4 separate regions of the Homo sapiens genome follow, and regions 1, 2 and 4 are each linked to region 3. Evidence: promoter capture Hi-C in 16 types of primary human blood cells and fetal thymus (Javierre and others, 2016). All regions are on one chromosome and are shown on one strand. The core of a region is centred on a gene start or on the middle of the fragment in contact, and the rest is flanking DNA. Distances in the headings are between cores, read along the strand shown. Region 1 overlaps PTPA (protein phosphatase 2 phosphatase activator). Region 2 has its middle 20 kb from the start of IER5L. Region 3 holds the start of ASB6 (ankyrin repeat and SOCS box containing 6). Region 4 overlaps LOC105376289 (a long non-coding RNA gene).

Region 1 (4,010 bases), core at 211-2,710, 510 kb after region 3:
ACTATGTAAGCAGTCACTGTCCATGTTACGCACTAGGAGACAGTGACAAGTAAGTCCTTGCCCTCAGAAAGTTTATGATCTATCAGGGACAACAGACATTATAAATATACAGTCACTACTATGATTCCAGCTCTGAAGGAGAAAGACAGGGTACTAACTGGAGGATATCACAGAAGGACCCTGACGTAAGGGTTCAAGGTTTCCCCTAAGGAAGTAACATCTAATCTGAAATCTGAAAGATGTGAGCTGGCAAGGCAAAGGGAGTGAGGGAAGCAAGAAATGCATTCTAGCCAGAAGGAATAGCATGTGCACAGGCCTTGAGGCAAGAAAAAGTTTGATCTGTTTGAGGAACACTAAGGAGGCCAGTATGTCGAAGGCAGTGAGAGCAAGGGAGAACGTGTAATGACAGGAGGCTACAGGTCACATGGGCCTTTTGGCCATAGGAAAGAGCTCAGACTTTACCCTAAGAGCAATAGGGAGCCACTGCAGGCTTCTAAGCAGGGAACACATGATCAGATTACAGGGTGAAAAAGTATCCTCCTTCCTTTCCCAGTCATATCAAACAGGAATGGTCTGCACTGTAGGAACAACTCACTGGACTGTGATTGAATCCCATTGTTCACAATGTCACACAAAACCTATCTGGAGGGAGGTGAGAAGAGAATGTGTCAGAGAATACTTCTGTCCTGTCTCTGGAGGACGAAGACCCCTCCAGGGCCTGGAAGCTTGTGAGCTCAGTTTCCTTCCCCTGCCACAGTTTCCAATTATGACCAGACAGGGCCCAGGCTCCCATTGTTCAGGGGTTCACATGCAGCTGGGGCACCAACCCCTGCTGACCTGGCCAGTCTTCCCTCTTTGATCTTTTCCTGCTGGTCTTAGTCAAAGCCCCACCCGGTCCAAGAGGGCCCTTCTCCAGGGCCTGCCTCTGTGGCTGGGGCTCCCTCCTGTGGATCACATTCCCCAGACAAGGGGAGGGCTGAGCGGTGCCCCATCTGCCTGCCTCAGGGAAGGAAGGCGGGCCCTCACCAAAGCAGAGGTCCTCCTTAGCTGCACAGGCCAGGCCCTGACCTAGAGAACGCCTCCCTTCTCTATTTTTGAGAGATGGGGTCTCAGCATGGTGGCTCGACAGGCCGTGCCCTGACACAGAGAATGCCTCCCTTCTATATTTTTGAGAGATGGGGTCTCAGCATGGTGGCTCCACAGGCCATGCCCTGACCTAGAGAACACCTCCCTTTTATATTTTTGAGAGATGGGGTCTCAGCATGGTGGCTTGCACCTGTAATCTGAGCACTTTGGGAGGCTGAGGTGGGAGAACAGCTTGAGCTCAGGAGTTCAAGACCAGCCCAGGCAACATGGCAAAACCCCATCTCTACAAAAAATACAAAACAATCAGCTGGGCGCAGTGGCTCACGCCTGTAATCCCAGTCCCAGCACTTTGGGAGGCCAAGGTGGGTGGAGAAGTGACCTCACCAGAGGTCAGGAGTTCGAGACCAGCCTGGCCAACATGGTGAAACCCTGTCTCTACCAAAAACACTAAAATTAGCCAGGTATGGTGGTGTGTGCCTATAGTCCCAGCAGAATAATCGCTTGAACCCAGGAGGTGGAGGTTGCAGTGAGCCAAGATCATGCCACTGCACTCCAGCCTGGGCAACAGAGTGAGACTCTGTCTCAAATAAATAAATAAATTGCCAGGCTGGTGGTGCACACCTGTAGTCCCAGGTACTGGGGAGTGGGGAGATGCAGAGGTGAGAGGATCACTTGGGCCCGGGAGGTCAAGGCTGCAGTGGGCCAAGATCACATCACTGCACTGCAGCCCGGGTGACAAAGCAAGACCCTGTCTCAAAAAAATAAATATATAAATAAAAATAACTTAAAATAAATTTTTAAAAAAGAGATGGAGTCTTGCTACGTTGCCTAGGCTGGTCTTAAACTCCTGAGCTCAGGCAATCCTCCCCCTCAGCCTCCAAAAGTGCTAGGATTACAGGCACGCACCACTGCACCTGTCTACACTTCCCTTTTAAAGTGTCCACACACTCCCTCTCCTCAAAGTCCAGGTCCCTTGGCTTACATGGACCACAGATCCAAACAGCCCAATAGCACAGAGAATGTGGCTAAGAGACAAGGGGTTCAAGGGAGAGGGTGTGCCACGACACTGCAAAGGCCACCAAGAAGCGTTCCCATTTCTCAAAGCTTCAGTAAGCTGCTGCCTTGACACACAGTAAGTGCTCAATTAATAATTATTTTGGTGATGATGAGGAGCTCAGAGACCATTTTCACAAGAACAGAAAGCAGCGCTGCGCAAGCACCATGCACGGGGCATCAGCTCCCCCTGGTGGACCACAGCAGAGCTGCAGCATCCGGGCCTCCCTGCATGCCTACGCCCTCCCTGCCGGTGAAGCCACCCTAACCCCAGCTGGCCCCAATAGGTTGCAGGTGCTTGGCGAATTCTTGATTGCTCTCACTTGCTCAGAGGGCCCAGAGACCACCTGAAGCCCAAAACAGAAAGCAGTGAAGCTAGATAAGTACAGAGCCCCACAAGCAGCAGATACCTGTGCCGTAGTCAATGCGCGTGGAGTTCCCCACTGACTCCTTTAGGTAAACAGCCACCTCAGGCACAGCAGCTGCCAGATGGGTAGGGACCACTGTGGCCACCAAGTTTTCTGCTTCCTGGTAACACAAGAGACACAAAGTGGTGGCAGCATATTAAGCAGCATCCCAGTGGGCAGGTGCCCAGGGGCAGCACCTGACTGGGGGCCCACACTGCCTTGCCAGGCCAGCTTGGTTCCTGTTCTGACAGGCCACAGAAGGAAGGGGAGGGACAGCATTTATTCTTCCACAGCAGAAGACTACCCAGGCGACTTATCATCAACTGATTTTTCCAGGGCACAGGAGTCTAGGGGCAAAACAGGAGGAATCTGGAAAAAAGCCTCAACCCTCCCATGTGGTAACTCACTGGAGCCCCACAGAGACTCTGGAAGGTCAGTGCTATGATTCCCACACAGGCCACCTTCCTTCACACTCTCAGGTCAGCAAGAGCTGGTGTCATGTGCCATCAAAAGACGTGCAGAAGAATGTTCACAACAGCACTGTTTAGAGTAGCCAAAAGGTGGAAATGCAATGGAAATGTCCATCAACAGTGAAATGAATAAATTGTGGTATATTCATACAATAGAATACTACACAGCAAAGAAAAAGACCTATAGCTAGACATGAAAACATGGATGAATCTCAGACATGACATTGAGCAAAAGAAGCCAGAGAGTTATACGAAGTTCAGAAACATGGAAAAAAATCAATTTATGGAATAGAAATCAGAATAATCTGGGCGATATCAATTGGGAAGGGGAGCACTCCAGCTAGAATGTTCTATTGCTTGACATGAGTGGTGAATCCATGGGTAAAAAACTTGGCATGAGTGGTGAGTCCATGAGTAAAAACATGTAAAAATCCATCAAGCTGTAAAGCTATGATTTGTCAGCTTTAAGATATAACTTAAGGCTGGGAGCAGTGGCTCACACCTGTAATTCCAACACTTTAGGAGGCCAAGGTGGGCGGATCACCTGAGGCCAGGATTTCGAGATCAGCCTGGCCAACATGATGAAACCCCGTCTCTACTAAAAACACAAAAATTAGCCAAGCATGGTGGCGCATGCTGTAGTCCCAGCAACTTGGGAGGCTGAGGCAGGACGATTGCTTGAGCCCAGGAGGTCAAGGCTGCAGGGAGCTGAGATCATGCCACTGCACTCCAGCCTGAACAACAGGAAAAAAAAAAAAAAAAGATCATGTACCATCTTAAGAGTCCAGAGGCAGGCCCGGGCGTCTCTTGGGAACAGCACTTCACTGGGTCCTGAGTCCTCCCCTCTGCTCTATGTGAAAATATTGGGCCAGAGCAATTAGGACCCAAATTTCCTTAAGCTCAGTTGTAGACAACTGGCATGAGCCATCTCCTGGAAAGCTAGTAAAAATCCAGGTTCCCAGTCCCTACCCAGACCTGTAGACTCTGCTTTTCT
Region 2 (4,678 bases), core at 1,460-3,959, 480 kb after region 3:
CAACAAAACACTTCTGTGGGTCAGGCAGGCACTGAGAACATAGCTGTGAATGAGCCCTGGCTCTGTCACTGAAGCAGAGGTTCCAGAGGAAGGCAAGGAGGCCAGCAAAGGGGGCTCGACTGCTCCTTGGGTGCCAAGACAAGCACTGGGACCTTTATCCTGCCAAGGCAGGTGGTATCACTAGTTTTTTTGTTGTTGTTGTTCTTGTTGTTTTGTTTGTTTGAGACAGAGTCTCCCTCTGTTGCCCAGGCTGGAGTGCAGTGGCATGATCTCGGCTCACTGCAACCTCCGCCTCCTGGGTTCAAGTGATTCTCTCACCTCAGCCTCCCAAGTAGCTGGAATTACACGTGCCCACTAACACACCCAGCTAATTTTTTGTATTTTTAGTAGAGACAAGGTTTCACCATGTTGGCCAGGCTGGTCTCGAACTATTGACCTCAGGTGATCGGACCCCCTTGTCCTTCCAAAGTGCTGGCATTACAGGTGTAAGCCACCACACCCGGCTGGCATCACTAGTTTATCAAAAGCAGCGTGACTCCCACTTAGCCTCTCCCTTGCTGCTCTGCCTCTCCAACCTTGGGAATGTCCCACGGACTTCACCTGCCTGAGGCCAAGTCCATGCAGTCTGCCCGTTTCCATCAAGGGTGCTGCCCAAACTTGGGAGTGAGCTGCAGAAGCACAAACCCTCAGAGTTTGGGACACTGGGAAGCTGTCCTGCCCGCAGGGCCCTCCACGGGACCCCCAGAGCTCCTGCATTGGAGTAAGGGGAGAGCAACTTTGCAGCCAAGGCCCTGGTCAGCACCTGTTGTTCAGCTTCTTCTAGGATAACACCAGGGACAGAGGACTTACTTTTTTATTCATTCATTCATTCATTCATTCATGGTTCAGCAGGTAGTAACTGGGCATCCACGTAGTCTGGGCCAGCCCCTACTCCTGGTGCTGGGGGCCCAGTGTTGGCCACAGTAAGCCTGTGCCCTCCCTCACTGGGCTTACCATCCACTGAGAGGGAGATGATCACCAAGTGAACAAGTTCATAGATAATAAAACTTGAGATGAAACTGGGCTCATGAAGGCAACTGGAACAGAGGGCGGATGGAGGCTCAAGTTAGGAGCAACTCAGAGAAAGCTGGAGTGTGGCCGGGCACAATGGCTCATGCCTGTAATCCCAGCACTTTGGGAGGCCGAGGCAGGTGGATCACGAGGTCAGGAGATCAAGACCATCCTGGCTAACACAGTGAAACCTCGTTTCTACTAAAAATACAAAAAATTAACCGGGCGTGGTGGTGGGTGCCTGTAGTCCCTGCTACTCGGGAGGCTGAGGCAGGAGAATGGTGTGAACCTGGAAGGCGGAGCTTGTAGTGAGCCGAGATCGCGCCACTGCACTCCAGCCTGGGGGACAGAGCGAGACTCCATCTCAAAAAAAAAAAAGAAAAAAAAGAAAGCTGGGACGCCTCTCTCGGGAGGTGGCATCTGAACTGGGCCCTGAACAACCAGAGGGTGCCTCTGCTCAGCCTGGGCTCAAGCAGTGCAAGCCAAGGAAACAGCAAGTGCCAAGGCCCTGGGGCAGCAACAAGTTTGACATTTTGGAGGACCAGGCAGGGCATGGTGGCTCACACCTGTAATCCCAGCACTTTGAGAGGCCAAGGCGGGCAGATCACAAGGTCAGGAGATCGAGACCATCCTGGCTAACACGGTGAAACCCCGTCTCTACTAAAAATACAAAAAAATTAGCCGGGTGTGGTGGCGGACGCCTGTAGTCCCAGCTACTCGGGAGGCTGAGGCAGGAGAATGGTGTGAACCCGGGAGGCGAAGCTTGCAGTGAGCCGAGATCGCGCCACTGCACTCCAGCCTGGGTGACAGAGCGAGACTCTGTCTCAAAAACAAACAAAAAAAAGACATTCTGGAGGACCAGAGAGAGGGCAACATGACTGAAGTACGGGAGTGGGCGAGTGGGGCGGGGGCACAGTGGCTCATCACCTCGTGGGGCCTTCTGTGCACAGTCAGGAGCCACCCTTCAAGTAGGGATCTGATGGGAGTGACCTTCAAGCACCTCAGGGTAGAATCACCTTTAAGCACCTCAGGGTAGAGCCCAGGGACAGTGGCAGAGTGGAGTCAGGAGAGCAGAGAGGAGATGCTGCTGGCCAGCGCTCCTGGGAGAGCTGACCGTGCTCCCTGGCTGCGGGCAGATTTGGGTTACAATTTGGAGGGAGACCCAATAGGACCTGCTCATGGGTTGGATTTGAGAGGTAGAGGAAAAGAAAGGAATTCAGGATAACACCTGCACCAGGTATGGTAGCTCATACCTGTAATAATCCCAGCACTTTGAGAGGCCGAGGCACGAGGATCACTTGTGCTCAGGAGTTTGAGACCAGCCTGGGCAACATAGGGAAACCCTGTCTCTACAGAAAAAAAGTTTCTTAAATTTAGCTGGGCATAATGGTGCACACCTGTAGTCCCAGGTGTGGACCCAGGAGAGTAAACTCTCAAGCAATAGAGGGTAAACGAGGCCAAGGCTGCAGTGAGCTATGATTGTGCCACTGCACCAGCCTGGACGACAGAGCAAGACTCTGTCTCAAAAAATAAAAATAAAAAAGATAACACCTGGGCCAGGCACGGTGACTCACTCCTATAATCTCAGGACTTTGGGATGCTGAGGCAGGTGGATCACTTGAGGCCAGGAGTTGGAGACCAGCCTGGCCAACATGGTGAAACCCGGTCTCTACTAAAAATACAAAATTAGCCAGGCGTGGTGGTGCAGGCCTATAATCCTAGCTACTAGGGAGGCTGAGCCAGGAGAATCACTTGAACCTGGGAGGCAAAGTTTGCAGTGAGCTGAAATCGAGCCACTGCACTCCAGCCTGGGTGACAGAGCAAGATCCTGTCTCAAAAAATAAAAAGGATGACGCCTGGATTTGGGGCCTGATGGCTGTCCGCAGAGACAGACTGCCTTGGGGAGAACAAGGAGCCACGTGGCCATAGCCAATCTTTCCCTTGCCCAGCTCCGGGTACCCCACCATGCTGGCCTTTGTAGGACCTGGTGTCAGACAAACCTGGGCACCACCCTGAACCCACTTGGACAAGCTGGAGGCCCTGGGACGCCACTAAGATCTGAGCCCCACCACCAAAAGCCCTTGACTGGGAATGTGATGCCACCTTCTCGGCTCACTGTGGGGACTCCACGAGGTGACACATAAAGCACAATCTGCACACACCAAGAGGCACGCTACCAGCCAGAGAGTCATTGCTGTCATGCGTCTTCGTCATCTTTGTGCAAATCGGCCCTGCCTCCAAAAAGAAACTGGGCCCTTGGAAGAGGTGCCTCTCAGAGAAGCCCAGGGTCTGGGGCCAGTCCTGGAGAGATGGGTGCAGGAGCAGGAGGAAGAGGAGGAGGAGGGGGAGGGGGTAGAGTGAAGTGGAGTGGAGGAGGGCTCTCAGGCCACCACAGTGGGGACAGGCAGCACACGGCAGCCCATGCCACCCGAGCCCTCAGGTCAGGCCCCGTGGAGAGGCTGCAGGAGCACGAGCTTTGGCGGGAAAGAGACCCCAGACCCTTCTGTGAAATGAGGACATCAGCGCCCATTGTGAGGATGAGGCAAGAGAAGCTTCGAAGCACTTAGCTCAGGGCCAGACACATAGGCCGCATGCAGGAGCCACAAGCTCCAGGCTCGCTGCGGGAACCCCCAGACATCAGGGGGCAGACAGCTGCTGGGGCCTGGAGCAGCAGTGGCAACTGAGACATGGGGACCAGGAATTTGCATGGAGTAGGGCAGGAGCCACTCCTGAAGGAATGGCCAGGCCACCACAGTCCGGGCAGAAGCCAGGCCTGGGGCCAGTAGCCAGCAAGGGAACGACCGCCCCAGCTCCAGACACCCAGCACACCTCCCAGCCTTGCTGCCGGAGCCCTCATCCTGCCTTCAAGGAAGGCTCTCCACCCTGTCCACGACATTCCCACAGCTCCCCACATGCCCCGTGTCCTCCTTAAACCTCCATGAGGGACGGAACCGCATCTGCCTCCTCCATGGTCCTTGGGGTCTCCTTGGAGCCTGGCAGAGCAAGTGCTCAGTAAACGTTCGTGGGACAGATTCACAGCCATTATTGGGCTCAGTGGGTAGAAATGTCCACACTGAGCTGGGCACAGTGGCTCATGCCTGTAATCCCAGCACTTTGGGAGGCCAAGGTGGGTGGATCACCTGAGGTTAGGAGTTCGAGACCAGCCTGGCCAACATGGTGAAACCCCGTCTCTACTAAAAATACAAAATTAGCCGGGTGTGGTGGTGCACACCAGTAATCTTGGCTACTTGGGAGGCTAAAGCAGGAGAATCGCTTGAATCCAGGAGTTGGGGGTTGCAGTGAGCAGAGATGGCACCACTGCACTCCAGCCTGGATGACACAGCAAGACTCTTGTCTCAAAGAAAAAAAAAAGAAAGAAAGAAAGAAAGAAATGTCCACGCTGGAGCCTGATGGCCCAGGTTTGAAACCCACTTACCACCAAGGAATTCCCCCATGGCTCGGTTGCCACATGCCCACCTCGCAGGGTGGCCTGCGGAGATTCAATGAGACGGTGCCAGCAAAGCCCTGGGCTGTGTCCGTTCGGTGTCTGGTACATCCACCCTGTAAGGCCATGTTTACTTACCTTGTTTATACGTAAGGAAACTGAGGCTCAGAGGGGTTCAGTCAT
Region 3 (4,294 bases), core at 139-2,638:
AGCATCTCAGGTGAGTGTGATTATACTTTTTTTTTTTCTTTTTGAGACAGAGTTTCGTTCTTATTGCCCAGGCTGGAGTGTGATGGTGCGATCTCCACTCACTGCAACCTCCGCCTCCCGGGTTCAAGCAATTCTCCTGCCTCAGCCTCCCAAGTAGCTGGGATTACAGGCGCCTGCCACCACGCCCGGGTAATTTTTGTATTTTTAGTAGAGACAGGGTTTCATCATATTGGCCAGGCCGGTCTGCAGCTTCGAACTTCTGACCTCAGGTGATCCACCTGCCTCGGCCTCTCAAAGTGCTGGGGATTCTACCCATTTTACAGATGAGGAAATCCAAGTTCAGAGACAGGCGGTAGCACACTCCTGTGTTCCCAGCTTCTCGGGAGGCTGAGGCGGGAGGATCACCTGAGCCCAGGGGTTCAAAGCTGCAGTGAGTCATGATCACTACACTACACTCCAGCCTGGGAGACAGAGTGAGACCCTGTCTCTAAAAAATACACAAGATTCGGGCTGGGCACCGTGGCTCATGCCTGTAATCCCAGCACTTTGGGAGGCCGAGGTGGGAGGATCACGAGGTCAGGAGTTCGAGACCAGCCTGGCCAATATGGTGAAACCCTGTCTCTACTAAAAATACAAGAATAAGCTGGGCGTGGTGGCCAGCGCCTGTAATCCCAGCTACTCGGGAGGCTGAGGCAGGAGAATCGCTTGAACCCGGGAGGCGGAGGTTGCAGTGAGCCGAGATCGTGCCATTGCACTCCAGCCTGGGCAACAGAGCGAGACTACGTCCCCCAAAAAAACAAAAACAACAACAACAAAAAACAAGATTCACTGAGTCCATCAAGGCAGAGGTGGAGAGGGCTAGCAGCCGTCCTGGCCAGGTGCTCCCCGGGACAGAGAATAAGAAACTGAGGAGGGGACGTGCGAGTACCCTGGTCCTCATCATTCCAGTCAGCGGGCCGGGTGGTGACAGAGGTGGCCCAGCCCCTCTTCAGGGAAGGCGAGGGCCAGCCCGAACCGGAAGGGGCAGTGTCTGATGACCACAGCTCTCAGGGGCGCCCAGGGCCAGTGGGGCAGCGGCAGGGCCGAGAGCACGACCGGCGGAACTCGGACGGCGCCCAGCGGTCGCGGGCGGGATCGCAGGGCGAAGCCGAGCCGGGCCGGGCCCTGGCAGGAAGGGGCGGACCCGCCTGAGTCTCGGATCTGGCTTGGCTCGATCCTCCACTCTCCCACTCCGCTGGGGCCGCCCACTGGACATCGCCCGAGTCGGCCTGGCGGTCGTGCCCCAGGACGCGCCGAGGTCCTCCGAGCCCGCAGGGGGCGCTGTCGCCATATGGCCCACCCTGAGTCGGCGCGGGCAGGAAGTACGAGGGTCACTTCCGGCGGGGGCGCGGCTTGGACTGAGGAGCGGACCCGGCCGGGCGCAGGGGCTGGACTGGCGGAGCAGGTGGGGTCCGCGGCCGCCGGAGCGTTCCGGTCGGCGTCTGGGCATCTCGGCCTCGGCAGAAAGCGCGACGGCCCTGCTGCGCGGGGCCCGCGGCGATGCCGTTCCTGCACGGCTTCCGGAGGATCATCTTCGAGTACCAGCCGCTGGTGGATGCGATTCTGGGCTCCCTGGGGATCCAGGACCCCGAGCGGCAGGAGTCTCTGGACCGGTAACTCACCCCCTCCCGTGAGCTGGCCGAGGCCGCTCCGACCCCGCAGCGTCCCACTTTATCACCACAAGCCGGGCGGGGTGGATGCGTCCCCCTTGACAGAGGAAGGGACGGGCGGAAGCCGGGGTTGCGTGGCTCGGAGTGCGCGCTGCCCCGCGCGGATCCCACTCCTGCCCCTTGCATGGCGGAGACGAAGGGCGGGGAGGGCCCGAGGGCGGAGGCCCGCGGGTTGTCGCAGGGCCTGCGCCTCAGCCCCACCCTGTCGCCTGCCTGTCCTGTGCCACCCCCCGGCGTGGCAGAGGAGCAGGGTGGAATCCGTGAGGCCTCAGATGTTACCCCAGAGCAGTGTGAAGGTGGGCTTTTGTAGCAGAGTTTGCGTTTTTATAGACAAGAGCTGGTCTGTCGTGGACCTGCAGGAAAGGGGTCGGGAGCGAATCTGCATTCACTGCCCATGGTACTAGGCACCTGGGGTCCATCAGTGGCTCAGCAAAACCCCCGCCTTCTTGGCGCATGTGCTCCAGAGGAGAGACTGACAAGTAATTGTACGGCGGCACGCGAGGTGGAAGGGAGGGGAGAGCAGAAGGAAGGGGCTCGGCTCAGGTGTTGAGGGGGTTGTCAGTTGGTATTTCCAACACGTGGTAATGATGAGTCTCGCCATCCAGGGACTCTGGTGGAAACGTAGGCTTTCTTCATCAATATCAGCTGAAGGTCTCAATGTGAGGGGAGGGAGGAGGCTGTGTTGCTGTCCTGGCTGCAGGTGTTGCCGGGGCTGGGGTCCTGCGGGTTTGAGGATGGAAGGGCTTTCTGAGGAAGAAGCATCAAAGTCGGGCTTGGGCTCTTGGCCTCCAGGCTGGTGGTCCCTTCAGTCCCAGCAGCCCAGGTGTGTGAGGCTTTGTACCTAAGTCTGCGACCGGACTCTGGGCAACGCGGGAGGAGAGCGCAGACAGACCCAGCCCATTCTCCGCAAATCCCAGTCTGCTCCCGTATTAAGAGATGCAGCGTGGCCCTCTCTCTACTTCAGAGCTTCCCCCAAGCCCCTGTGACCCACAGAGCCAGGGCCCTGCTTGCTGATGATGATAGCAGGACTAAAGCCCACCAACCCACAGGCTGCGCGGTCACCCGGTCCCACAGCTGTGCCTACCCTCAGCCTCTCTCCTGTCCCAGGCCCAGTTATGTCGCCAGCGAGGAGAGCCGAATCCTTGTTCTCACTGAGCTGCTGGAGAGGAAAGCCCACTCTCCCTTTTACCAGGAAGGCGTGAGCAACGCCCTGCTCAAGATGGCTGAGCTGGGGCTGACGCGGGCGGCCGACGTTCTCTTGCGGCATGGGGCCAATCTCAACTTTGAAGGTCAGCGAGAGCCCCGGGGGTGGGCAGGTGGCTTAAACGCGGCCCGACGCTGGGTGGGCGCCCATGTCCCCAGCCTTGGCTTCTACCATCCTCTGAGGAGTGACTTCCCCCCCTTTATTTCCTGGGTGGCTGCAACTAAGGAAACTCCCATTGGGTGGCCTCCCACCCCCTGCGGGTTTTCACATGGCTCTTCCCACCTCTGTTCCAAGAGCGAGTGTTGCTGCTTCTACCATGTGATTGATTAGCAAACTTTCCCCAGCTCCCAGATTAATCCCCACTTCCATTAATGCAAAAATGCGGCTGCTGGCACTGTGCCCAGAGCTAAGGGAAGGTAATTTTCTGCTACTTACTCTGAGCCAATTTGTTTTTTTTTTTCTCATGCCGTAGGGAGAGGGGAAAACAGGCTGCATTAGGCATAAATCACCACAGGACACCCTGGCTCCTGGCTCCTGAGTGCCAGGGATGGAGATGGAGCCGAGCTCCTTTCTCTGTGTTTTTCAGCCCAGGGAGGGCAGGGTTAGTCGGCAGACAGGCAGGGCTGCCTTGTGACCTAATAGGGGCCTGAGACAGCCAGGCACGTCTCCTTTCCCCATCCGAAGACGGGCTTGGAGTCTGCTGGGCTCCTGGAGGGTCAAGGAGCTGAGACGGGAGGGCCGGTTCTGAAGCCAGTGACTTGGAGACCAGCTTGGAGAACCTGGCTGTTACCACCAGGCCTACAAAGCAGAGCCGCCAGAGCTGCTGTGTAGCGCGGCCTCCCAGCCATTCTGAGAGGGTGCGCCCCGTTTTATGGTCCCTTCTTACAGAAGAGGAAACTAAAGCCCCCAACAGCTTCAGTAGCGTGCCCACTAGAACACCCCGAGGGCCCTCTAGTATCTGGTGAGGACAGCTCTGTCCTAACCCTTGATGGTGACAGGAGGCTGGGCCTGTGCTTCTGGACACTTTAGGTGGGAGTTTGGGGCTGGGCTCTGGGTCCGGGGGCCCCATAAGAATGCGGACAGATAGGACCCACATGAGCTGTGTCTGCACCTTCAGACCCAGTCACCTACTACACGGCCTTGCACATCGCCGTCCTGCGGAACCAGCCGGACATGGTGGAGCTGCTGGTGCATCACGGGGCCGACGTTAATCGGAGGGACCGGGTAAGTGCCAGGTCCAGCTTGCTTTGAAGCAGGGTTGGGCAGGGGCCTGAGCAGCTTCCCAAGCCAACCTGGCTGTGCTTCCTTGGCTCAGATCCACGAGAGTAGCCCCTTGGACCTGGCCAGCGAGGAGCCTGAGCGCCTGCCCTGCCTGCAGCGC
Region 4 (4,333 bases), core at 1,223-3,722, 430 kb after region 3:
GGAGGTTGTACCACTGCACTCCAGCCTGGGCAACAAGAGCGAAACTCCGTCTCAAAAAAAAAAAAAAATTAGCCAAGCATAGTGGCGCACGCCTGTAATCCCAGCTACTCGGCAGGCTGAGGCAGGAGAATTGCTTGAGCTCAGGAGGCGGAGGTCACAGTGAGCCAATATCGCACCATTGCACTCCAGACTGGGCAACAGAGCCAGACTCTGTTTCAAAAAAAAAAAAATAGCTCAAATAATAAAAAGTTTAGGAAAAGATGCTTTTTTTTCATTTTTTATTGTGATAAAATACACAAAACATAAATGGTTAGGTCCAGTTCAGTGGCATGAAGCATATCCACATTGTGCCTCTATCACCACCATCATCTCCAGAACATTTTTCATCTTGTAAAACTGAAAATCTGTCCCCATTAAACTCTAACTCCCCATTCCCCCTTCTCCCCAGCTCCTGGCACTCCCCATCCTACTGTCTCTATGAATTTGACTACTCTAAACACCTCACATGGGTGGTCTTGCTTTGTGGCCCAGGCTGGTATTGAGCAATCCTCAAGCAATCCTCCGTCCTTGGCCTCCCAAAGTGCTGAGATTACAGGCATTAGCCACAGCACCTGGCTAATATTTGTCCTTTTTTGATGGGCTTATTTCACTCAGGTACTCAAGGTTCACCCAAGTCGTAGCATGTGTCAGAATGTCCTTCCTTTTTTAAGGGTGAATCGTGGCCGGGCGCCGTGGCTCACGCCTGTAATCCCAGCACTTTGAGAGGCCGAAGAGGGAGGATCACTTGAGGTCAGGAGTTCGACACCAGCCCCTGGCCAACATGGTGAAACCCTGTCTCTGCTAAAAATATAAAAATTAGCCAGGTGTGGTGGTACATGCCTGTAATCCCAGCTACTCAGGAGGCTGAAGCAGGAGAATCACTTGAACCCGGGAGACAGAGGTTGCAGCAAGCTGAGGTCGTGCCACTGCACTCCAGCCTGGGTGACAGAGCCAGACTCCGTCTCAAAAAAAAAAGGCTGAATCGCATTCCATTGTATGGCTGGGGCACATTCTGTTTACTCGTTCACCCATCAGCAGACACGTGGGATGCTTCCACCCTTTGACTACTGTGAATAACACTGCTATGAAAACAGGTGTACAAATACCTGTTTTCCAGCCTGACATTCCTGCATTTATTCACTCATGCAACATTCAAATAGAATACATTGAGCACCTACTGTGCACTAGGCTCCGGGCTAGGTTCTGTGGACTCCATAGTGTGAGCCAGAGGGACAGGCCCTGCCTCGTGGAGCCACTTGTCCCTTGGGATCTGAAGGTCATGGAGACTTCGGGGCACAGGGACAGGGTATTTGGGGTACTGCCTGTGTCTGGCAGGGTGCAGGCCAGAAGAGGATAGTGCTGGCCAAGATGTAGCAAGTTCACCAGCCAAGCAGTGGGCAACGGCAGAGCCACCCCAAGCTTCCCCATCAATGTCATTGTCCTGCACCCATCCAGAAAGCCAGCTGCCCATCCCCCCCATTCCTCCCTCTCTGCAGCCCTCCTCTGAGTCCGGAAATCCAATCAGCTTCCTCAACCCAGCAAGACTCAGGGAGTCCCCTCTCTTTCAACAAGATATTCACCTGCAGGCAAACTTGGAGGTGAGCTGGGTGTCTCTTTTTCTTCGTTTTTTCCAACCAGTGCCCAGGAAATGAGGGTGGCTCTTGAAGGGCAATGGCTTCTCTTCAGAGCCCAGGGACGCTGGGGCAGTGGCTACATCCACTCTCTGCAGGTCCCTGTGTGCGGAGGCTGAGCTGGCCGTAGGGAGACGCAAATGGTCAAGTCCCGAGTTATGCACTCAAGCGGTTCAAGTCTAGTTGGAGAGCCAGACGCACACTCCATAAAACTGCAACAAGGGAAGTGCCACGATGGGGAGTGCGGTGATGGGGAGTGCAGGTATCCAAAGGGCACAAGCCCCACTTCCTGGAGGGAGAGACACCTGAGCCGGCTCCTAGAGAGTAAGAAAGAAATGCTGAAAGGGGTGTGGCTCCCAGGGACTCAGGGGGAGGGTGGCCATGGTTCCGCAGGAGGCTGGGCTCCAGAGAAGAGGCTGAGAGGCAGGCCGGACAGGAGAAGGTAGAGCCTGCAGGCCAAGGGGAAGGGTCTGAACTTTACCCAAGGGCAATAGGGAGCCATTCCAGGCCGTTCAGCAACAGAGAGGCCTGGGCAGATGTACCCTCAAATGTTCCATCACAGGGGCGGCTGTGGGGAAGACAGGAAGTGGGAGGGGCCAGGCTGGAGGAGAGCAGGGGGTGGGAGGGTCCCACAGCGATCAACGTGACAGACTCCAAGCTGATCCTGGGAGCCTACAGGGCAAGCCTCTTTCTATGGCCCCCAGCAATGGAAACTCCAGAACTCTCCAGGGCTGCTTCTGTGGCCTCCACCTCAACCTCCTCCAAGGCGTGGCCAGAGATGCAGAGCTGCAAAAGGGCCTGTGTGGGCCTGAGCAGTTAAGAACTTGGAGTCAAGCCCGGCAAGGTGGTTCACGCCTATAATCCCAGCACTTTGAGAGGCTGAGGTGGGAGGATTGTTTGAGTCCAGGAGTTCGAGATCAGCCTGGGCAACAAAGTGAGGCCTCATCGCTAACAAAAAAAAAAAAAGTCGGGCATGGAGCCGCATGCCCATAGTCCCAGATGTTCTGAAAGCTGAAGTGGAAGGATCACTTGAGTTCAGAGGTCAAGGCTGCAGTGAGCTATGATCACACCACTGCACTCCCCTCCAGCCTGGGTGACAGAGACCCTGTCTCTAAAAAATAATTAACTTAATTTTTTTCAAAAAAGAACTTGGGGTCAAAGTCAGAGAGACTTGCTGGGCCACATGCGTGTTTGCAAAACCTTGAGAAGGCCGCCACCTCTCTGAGTCTCCATCTCCTCCTCACCTGCAAAATGAAGATAGTACCCATGAATCCCCTCAAGGGAGGTGGAGAGAATTAATGAGAAAATAAACATCAAGTGCTAGCGTGGTGCTTCTCAACAGATGTTGGTTCTTTATGACCAGTAGTGGCAGTGAGCAGGTATGACTATTATATAGACCCAACCGTTTATAAAATCCCAACCCCTCCACCCCAGGCAGCCGGGTTCCAGTGTTCCTGGTCTTTTCTACCTGTCTTTTTGATGCCTTCTGCTCTGAAAGATCCCCTCCCAGACTCCCAAACTAGTAAAATCCTGCCTATGCCTCCAAGGCCACCCCAGAGATCACCTCCTCCACAAAGCCTGCCTGGATTCCCCTTCCCCACAACACAAAGACTCTCACAGCCACAGCCACCAGGGCTCACCTCTGCAGCAGCTCCTAGTGTCCCATGCTCTAAAAGGCTCGTCACTTTGTCACCTGTCCCTTCAAACGGAGGGCTGGGGCCAGGCCCCAGAACAGGGGCTGGTACGGAGCAGGTGTTCAGTAAATATGGGATGGATAGGTAGACAGAAGGACAGACATATGGGTGAAATAAGCTTTCTGCATTCATCAGAACTAGTCGCAAGGACAGAAAGCCAACTCAAATTGTCCTAAGCCAAAAGGGATAGACCGTGTCAGGCAAGGCTGGATCCGGGTTGATATAGTGTGGATCTGTGTCCCCACCCAAATTTCCCGTTGAATTGTCAACCCCAATGATGGCGGTGGGGCCTGGTGGGAGGTGGCTGGATCGTGGGGATGGGTTTCTCATGAGTGGTTTAGCACCGTCCTCTTAGTGCTGTTCTTGTGATACTGAGTGAGTTCTCATGAGATGTGGTTGTTTAGAAGTGTGTGGCACCTCCCCTCTCTCTCTCTCTCTTGCTCCTTTTCTGGCCATGTGACATGGCTGCTTCCCCTTCACCTTCCGCCATGATTGTAAGTTTCTCCAGAAGCCAAGCAGATGCCAGCACTATGCTTTCTGTACAGCCTACAGAACTGTGCACCAATTAAACCTCTTTTCTTCATGAGTTACCCAGTCTCAGGTATTTCTTTACAGCAATGTGAGAACGGACTAATACACAGGTGTTCAAACAATGTCTCCCTCCCGCCATCCCCTGTCAATTTCTCAGCTCTGCTGTCTAGTGTTGGCTTCATCTTGCGCAGGCTGCCCACACAGTTGACCCTGGCAATTCCAACCTTGTATCCTACCAGCCTAGGCTCCCTGGCAAAAAGAGAGCTTCCCTTCCCCTTTCTTTGCTCCCAGGTCCCAGGCCTGCATCTCACTGGCCTGCCTTGGGTCACATGACTGCATGCTCACCATGTGCTGATTGGCCAGCCTGGGATGACAGGTGTGCTCCTGAAGGACAGGGGACCACTTCAAAAAGGGACCTGAGGGTGACTGAGAGGGTGG

What was found. The method cuts DNA at HindIII sites, captures the fragments that hold promoters and counts their contacts. A CHiCAGO score of 5 or more calls a contact.
Region 1: a contact is called between a fragment that was not itself captured here and the fragment with the promoter of ASB6 in region 3, in 15 of 17 cell types (activated CD4 T cells, naive CD4 T cells, total CD8 T cells and 12 more). The highest score is 14.9, in activated CD4 T cells.
Region 2: a contact is called between a fragment that was not itself captured here and the fragment with the promoter of ASB6 in region 3, in 7 of 17 cell types (neutrophils, total CD8 T cells, naive CD4 T cells and 4 more). The highest score is 9.9, in neutrophils.
Region 4: a contact is called between a fragment that was not itself captured here and the fragment with the promoter of ASB6 in region 3, in 2 of 17 cell types (neutrophils and monocytes). The highest score is 8.0, in neutrophils.

Annotation. Positions count from the first base shown.
Region 1 is chr9:129,130,179-129,134,188 of GRCh38, reverse strand. PTPA (protein phosphatase 2 phosphatase activator) reads right to left here. Exons shown (of 10, transcript NM_178000.3): 5 at 2,550-2,667. Among named protein-coding and RNA genes, the nearest start is that of PTPA, 21 kb to the right of the region's middle. RefSeq lists enhancers at 511-1,011, 2,105-2,659 and a silencer at 2,212-2,413. The HindIII fragment of the contact is 1,465 bases long and covers 728-2,192 here.
Region 2 is chr9:129,155,467-129,160,144 of GRCh38, reverse strand. No RefSeq gene overlaps it. Among named protein-coding and RNA genes, the nearest start is that of IER5L, 20 kb to the left of the region's middle. The HindIII fragment of the contact is 1,790 bases long and covers 1,815-3,604 here.
Region 3 is chr9:129,639,245-129,643,538 of GRCh38, reverse strand. It overlaps ASB6 (ankyrin repeat and SOCS box containing 6), which reads left to right and starts at 1,388. Exons shown (of 6, transcript NM_017873.4): 1 at 1,388-1,652; 2 at 2,817-2,998; 3 at 4,031-4,137; 4 at 4,229-4,294. The coding sequence starts at 1,540. RefSeq lists a silencer at 1,022-1,621 and enhancers at 2,328-2,884, 2,885-3,442. The HindIII fragment of the contact is 16,646 bases long and covers 1-4,294 here.
Region 4 is chr9:129,206,523-129,210,855 of GRCh38, reverse strand. It overlaps LOC105376289 (a long non-coding RNA gene), which reads right to left. Exons shown (of 2, transcript XR_007061813.1): 2 at 1,149-1,987. Among named protein-coding and RNA genes, the nearest start is that of IER5L-AS1, 28 kb to the left of the region's middle. The HindIII fragment of the contact is 2,024 bases long and covers 1,461-3,484 here.